Linked DNA regions of Homo sapiens: region 1 is linked to region 2. The links are contacts of gene promoters, found by promoter capture Hi-C in human tissues and cell types (Jung and others, 2019). All regions are on one chromosome and are shown on one strand. Each heading gives the region's core, a stretch centred on a gene start or on the middle of the fragment in contact. The rest is flanking DNA. Distances are from core to core; before and after follow the strand shown. Region 1 holds the start of TSKS (testis specific serine kinase substrate). Region 2 has its middle 6.7 kb from the start of IL4I1.

Region 1 (3,756 bases), core at 1-2,500, 140 kb before region 2:
GCAGGGGGCCCAGCCAGTGTGAGTTGGCCGCTGAGGTCTTCCACTGTGGAGTCTGTCCCCGTGGAGTCAGTGGGCTCCATGGCGGCCAGGTTGAGCAGTGACACGTTGGTGCAGGCCGAGGACCGTTTGAGGTTCAGGCACCAGTGCATGGGCTGATGGGACATCTGGGGCTCCACCCTGCAGAGAAGAAACAGGCAGAAAAGTGGAGAAGCAGCCCCAGGGTGTCTGGGCCCTCCTGCCTTCCTTTCTCCATACCTCACCCCCTGTGACTCCACCCTCACTGTATATAAGTTTCTCCCTTCTCTGTCCCCGCTGCCTACTTTATTCTCCTTCCCTGTGCTGCCTACTTTCTTTCTTTTTTCTTTCTTTCTTTTTTTTTTTTTTTTGAGACAGAGTCTCACTCTGTTGCCCAGGCTGGAGTGCAGTGGCGCGATCTCAGCTCACTGCAACCTCCGACTGCGGGTCCCAGTTCAAGCAATTCTCCTGCCTCAGCCTCCTGAGTAGCTGGGGTTATAGGCATGTGCCATCACGCCCAGCTAATTTTAGTATTTTTAGTAGAGATGGCTTTTCACCATGTTGGCCAAGCTGGTTTTGAACTCCTGACCTCATGATCCACCTGCCTCGGCCTCCCAAAGTGCTGGGATTACAGGCGTGAGCCACCGTGCCCGACCACCACTGTCTACTTTCTTCTTCTCCTTCCCCGCTGCCTACTTTCTCCTCCCTTCTCTGCCACCTACTTTCTTCTTCATTCACTAGCCTCCCTTCTCCTTCTTCCCTCCCCACTGGCTTTTTCCTCTCTCCATCCATCCCCATTACCTTCTTCCTCCCTCCATCCATCCCCATTACCTTCTTCCTCTCTACCTCCCTGTGACTTGATGTCTCTTCACTGCTGCCCTCTTTCCTGCCCCCGACCTGCTGGCTTTTCCCCCTCCCCTTCCTCTAGCACCCACAGTCGGACTCCTGCTCTGTTGGAGGTAGTGCTGGGCATTAGAACCATCCCTGACAGTGTGCAACAAACCCACCCGTGGAACGACACGGCCTTCTTTTTCTTCGGGATCCCCTTGGCCCGGCTGGTCACCCTCCGGGGAGCCTCTGGGACTAGCTGGGAGCAGCTCTCCACCCCCGTGGGGGTGTCCCCGGCCTCATGGATCTCTTTGGACTGCCAGATCGTCTTCACCACCACGCTCGCCATGGTGTGGGGGTCTGGCTCCCAGGGAGGGGCTCCTTCCTCTGAGACTTCCTACCTACTGTGACCACAGACCCTCAGGATCCACTGTCCCCTCAGCCTGCCTCACAAAGGACCCAACCACTGGGCCCCAGTGAGTGGGGGGCACAGGGTAGGGAGAGATGCTGGCCCAGGTCATTCCCCTAGGGTTCTCAGTGGACTCCTCCTGTTCAGGATTCTAGTTACATGCCCAATGTGCCCCCCGTCTTCAGAGCTCCAGTGGATGGATTCATGCTAGCCTGTAACTTAACAATGGGTCGGCCCACGGATTCTTGGGAGAGGTCCAACTTCCCTCTCCCTGAGACTAAGCGTGGGGTCACACAGCCCTGTGCACTTGTTCTTGATTCTTCATGTAGCTTCCTGGATTTGACAATTGGCTGGGGTTTGAGAGACTGTGGTCGAAGAGGGCTGAGATCCAGACCCTGACCTGGAGGGTCTCATATTCTATGGGGCGTCGGGGTCGGGGGAAAGGCAATATACAGGTAGATCAACAAAAGAAAGCTAGGTGCGGTGGGCCTCGGGGTCAGGGTAGAAGGTGAGGGAGGAGAGGAAGGTAGAGAGTTGGGGCAGGACAGAGGGTGGTATCCCCCTCCCCCGTTTATTTATTTATTATTTTCTTTAATACTTTTTATTTTTTTTGAGACAGAGTCTCTCTCTGTCATGGAGGCTGGAGTTCAGTGGCGCGATCTCAGCTCATTGCAACCTCCACCTCCCGGGGTTCAACCGATTCTCCTGCCTCAGCCTCCCCAGTAGCTGGGACTACAGGCGCTGGCCACAATGTCCGGCTAATTTTTGTATTTTTAGTAGAGACGGGTTTCACCATGTTGGCCAAGTTGGTCTCAAACTCCCGACCTCAAATGGTCCACCCGCCTTAGCCTCCCAAAGTGTGGGATTACAGACATGAGCCACCATGCTCCGCTATAATTTTTTTTTTTTTTTTTTAGATGGAGTCTCGCTCTGACACCCAGGCTGGAGTGCAGTGGCGTGATCTTGGCTCATTGCAACCTCTACCTCCCAGTTTCAAGCGATTCTCCTGCCTCAGCCTCCTGAGTAGCTGGGACTACAGGTACCTGCCACCACACCCATCTAATTTTTTTTTTGTATTTTTAGTAGAGACAGGGTTTCACTGTGTTGGCTAGGCTAGTCTCCAACTCCTGACCTCGTGATCTGCCCACTTCAGCCTCCCAAAGCATTGGAATTACAGGTGTGAGCCACTGCGCCCCGCCCGCCCAAAGTATTTAAAAAATATATGGAACATGTCACAAATTTGCATGTGGTCTTTGCGCAGGGCCCATGCTAATCTTCTCTGTATCGTTCCAATGTTAATACATGTGCTGTCGAAGCGAGCACTGCCCTGCTATTTAGGGACAGACTTTTCCTGTTCTCTTCACACTTCTCAAAAAGACTAGTTCAAACATCACTGCTAATAGACATTTTAAATGCTGTTATCCCCAGGGAGAAAGTACTTCTTCCTGGTCATGAATGGACTCCAGTTCTTGGAACACTTAATCTTTCTATAATAAAGAACTCCTGGCTGGGCGCGGTGTCTCACACCTGTAATCCCAGCACTTTGGGAGGCCGAGGCGGGCGGATCACCTGAGGTTAGGAGTTCAAGACCAGCCTGGCCAACATAGTGAAACACTGTCTCTACAAAAATACAAAAATTAGGCGAGCATGATGACGGGTGCCTGTAATCCCAGCTACTTAGGAGGCTGAGGCAGGAAAATCGCTTTAACTCGGGAGGAAGAGGTTACAGTGAGCCGAGATTGAGTCACTGAACTCCAGCCTGGGGGACAGAGAGAGACTCTGTCTCAAAAAAAAGAAAAAAAAAAAAGGCCGGGCGCAGTGGCTCACGCCTGTAATTCCAGCACTTTGGGAGGCCGAGGTGGGCGGATCACAAGGTCAGGAGATCGAGACCATCCTGGCTAACACGGTGAAACCCCGTCTCTACTAAAAACACAAAAAATTAGCCAGGCATGGTGGCGTGCGCCTGTAGTCCCAGCTACTTGGGAGGCTGAGGCAGGAGAATGGCGTGAACCCGGGAGGCGGAGGTTGCAGTGAGCTGAGATCGCGCCACTGCACCCCAGCCTGGGCGACAGAGCGAGACTCCATCTCAAAAAAAAAAAAAAAGAACTTCAAGTCCTGGGATTAATAATTTTTCTTGTGTTTAATGGGGCTGCTTTATGTTCTTCAGGGGCAAACAGCACCCCCCTCCCATATTAGAAATGGACTCTCCCTGTGACTAAAACAGCTGAGCAATTTCTGTCCTCCTGGAATCCAAAATGGACTTTCCCAGGCCCCATTCCTGGAAACCCAAATGGACGCATCCATTGAGCCTGGAAGGTGGGCTCTTCTCAACCTCCTTTCCATCTCCCAGGATTCAGAATGGCCATTCCAAAGGTCCAGAACACACCCCCAAGGCTCATTCCAGGAATTCTTGGCTTCTGAGATTAGAAAAGGCTGATGGGGTGGAGTTTTGTTCCTACAGGTGACAGAAATGGACTCTTCCAGTTCCCTTTGTCCCAAATTTC
Region 2 (2,788 bases), core at 289-2,788:
TGACTTCGGGTGATCCCTCCCATCTTGGCCTCCCAAAGTGCTGGGATTACAAGGCTGAGCCACTGCACCTGACCATGTTTTGCTTTTTAAAAACTACAATATCATTATCATATTTTAAGATGGCAGCCATTTCTTTTTTTTTTTTTTTTTTGAGATGGAGTCTCGCTCAGTTGCCCAGGCTGGAGTGCAGTGGCACGATCTCGGCTCACTGCAAGCTCCGGATGGCAGCCATTTCTTAATATCATTAAATCAATGTTCACGTTTCCTGGAATAGCTCATCACTGAAAAACAAAACAAAACAAAACAAAAAAACAGTTTAGGCCGGGCATGGTGGCTGACACCTGCAATCACAGTACTTTGGGAGGCCGAGGTGAGCGGATCACCTGAGGTCAGGAGCTCAAGACCAGCCTGGGCAACATGGTGAAACCCCATCTCTACTAAAAATACAAAAATTAGCCAGGCGTGGTGGCGGGCACCTCTGTAATCCCAGCTACTCAGGAGGCTGAGGCAGGAGAATCACTTGAACCTGGGAGGCAGAGGTCGCTATGAGTTGAGATCATGCCACTCCAGCCTAGGCGACAGAGCGGGACTGCATCTCAAAAAAAAAAGGCCAGGTGTGGTGGCTCATGCCTGTAATCCCAGCACTCTGGGAGGCCGAGACAGGTGGATCACAAGGTCAGGAGATCAAGACCATCCTGGCCAACATGGTAAAACCCTGTCTCTACTAAAAATACGAAAATTAGCTGGGTGTGGTAGTGCACGCCTGTAGTCCCAGCTACTCAGGAGGCTGAGGCAGGAGAATCGCTTGAACCCGGGAGGCAGAGATTGCAGTGAGCCGAGATCACACCACTGCACGCCAGCCTGAGCAACAGAGCAGGACTCTCTGAAAAAAAAAACAACAACAAAACAAAAAACGGTTGGTTTGTCAAGATGCAAATCACAGTCCATATTGCATTTGAGTGACATTGTCTTGGTCAGTAAGTGTCACTATCAGTTCTGTGGATTCAAGGGAACTAGGGTATCTGAGGTGACCCCAGGGCACCAGGCTAGTCCCCATCACGGCAGCGCACCCGGTCTGCTTCTTGCCTCGGGAAACCTTTGGCGTCTGAGAGGGTTCAACCTGATGGTGTCTGGAGGGGAGACGGGACAAGGGCGCCCATGTGGGTCACTGTGTTTGAAGTCACCAGGGCCCTGGTGTGCAGAAGCCAAGGGTGTGGTCCTGTGGGACAGGCAGGGGAACAGCCGGGGTCACTGAAACCTGGCTGGGGGGCTGGCTGCTGTGCAAGAAGCAGACCTCGCTTCCGAGCGTGAGGGCTTTGCTCCCTGGGAGGTTCTGTGGAGAGCCGCTGCCCTGAGTCTGAGGGGCAGATTTTTAAAGCACCCTGACATTTTTGGGGTTTACTGAAAACTTGGGAGCAGTGGTGTGCTGAAGCTGAGTCATACCAGGTCATAAGAGCTGATTTACATTTTCAGGAGTTTTTGCTTTGCAAGCCACTCATTACTAAAAAATAAATTGTATTGATGATTAGTTTTTACTAAAAAAGAATAAAAAGTCATCATTCCCTCATGGTTTGACTACATATTATACTGTTATATGTGCTGGGTTTTTTTTTTTTTTTTTTTTTTTTTTGAGACAGGGTCTCACTTTTGTTACCCAGGCTGGAGTGCAGTGGTACGATCTCGGCTCACTGCAATGTCTGCCTCCCAGGTTCATGTGATCCTCCCACCTCAGCCTCCAAGTATCTGAAACTACAGGCAGGAGCCACTACGCCAGGCTAATTTTTGTATTTTTGTAGAGACGAGGTTTCGCCATGTTGCCCAGGCTGGTCTCAAACTCCAGACCCCAAGTAATCTACTCCCCTTGGCCTCCCCAAAATGTCGGGATTACAGGCATGAGCCACCACACCCAGCCCCCATTTGCCACTCTTATCCCTAAACAGGGGAAAGCAAAGCAGTAAGAGCTGAGATTCACCTTTAAAAGCCTCTGATTCCAAATTTAGTCACCAAATGTGTTGTCTTCATATGAATTAATGAGGAACTTAAGGAAAGGCCATTTGTCAGGACTGGGAAGGAAGCACATCTGTGTATTTTCTTCCTGGAAAGGGAAACTGAAATTACGATGGAGCCATCACCCGCGGTGGCACCCAGTCGGTTGCTGATGCTGCTGCGATCTCGGGATCCCTCCTAGACTCCCCCAGGAGGCCTGTTGGGACCATTTCTCACATGGCTTTGGGGCACAGAGCCTCCTGATTTAATGGAATCACTTGTGTTATTCAGAGTGGGGTGCTCAAGATCCTTTGGGGTATGGGAAGAAAATGCAGAACTTAAAATTTTTTTTTTGAGATGAAGTCTAACTTTGTTGCCCAGGCTGGAGTGCAGTGGCGCGATCTTGGCTCACTGCAACCTCCGCCTCCCAGGTTCAAGTGATTCTCCTGAGTACCTGGGAGTTACAGGCACCCACCACCACGCCGGGCTAATTTTTGTATTATTTATTTACTTATTTGAGACGGAGTCACTCTTTTGCCCAGGCTGGAGTGCAGTGGCTTGATCTCTGCTCACTGTAAGCTCCGCCTCCCGGGTTCATGCCATTCTCCTGCCTCAGTCTCCCGAGTAGCTGGGACTATAGGCGCCTGCCACCACACCCGGCTAATTTTTTTATATTTTTAGTAGAGACAGGGTTTCACCGTGTTAGCCAGGATGGTCTCGATCTCCTAACCTCGTGATCCGCCCACCTTGGCCTCCCAAAGGGCTGGGATTACAGGCATGAGCCACCGTGCCCAGCCCCTAA

Evidence for each region. Contacts are between HindIII fragments. The study calls those that stand out against the background at their distance.
Region 1: the fragment with the promoter of TSKS here is called in contact with a fragment that was not itself captured in region 2 in 1 of the 25 tissues and cell types used here (pancreas).

Annotation. Positions count from the first base shown.
Region 1 is chr19:49,762,056-49,765,811 of GRCh38, forward strand. It overlaps TSKS (testis specific serine kinase substrate), which reads right to left and starts at 1,251. Exons shown (of 11, transcript NM_021733.2): 1 at 1,023-1,251; 2 at 1-177. The coding sequence starts at 1,192. It also overlaps the pseudogene RNU6-841P. RefSeq lists enhancers at 1-4, 3,611-3,756. The HindIII fragment of the contact is 39,317 bases long and covers 1-3,756 here.
Region 2 is chr19:49,902,227-49,905,014 of GRCh38, forward strand. It overlaps a transcript of IL4I1 not described here. Among named protein-coding and RNA genes, the nearest start is that of IL4I1, 6.7 kb to the left of the region's middle. The HindIII fragment of the contact is 8,874 bases long and covers 1-2,788 here.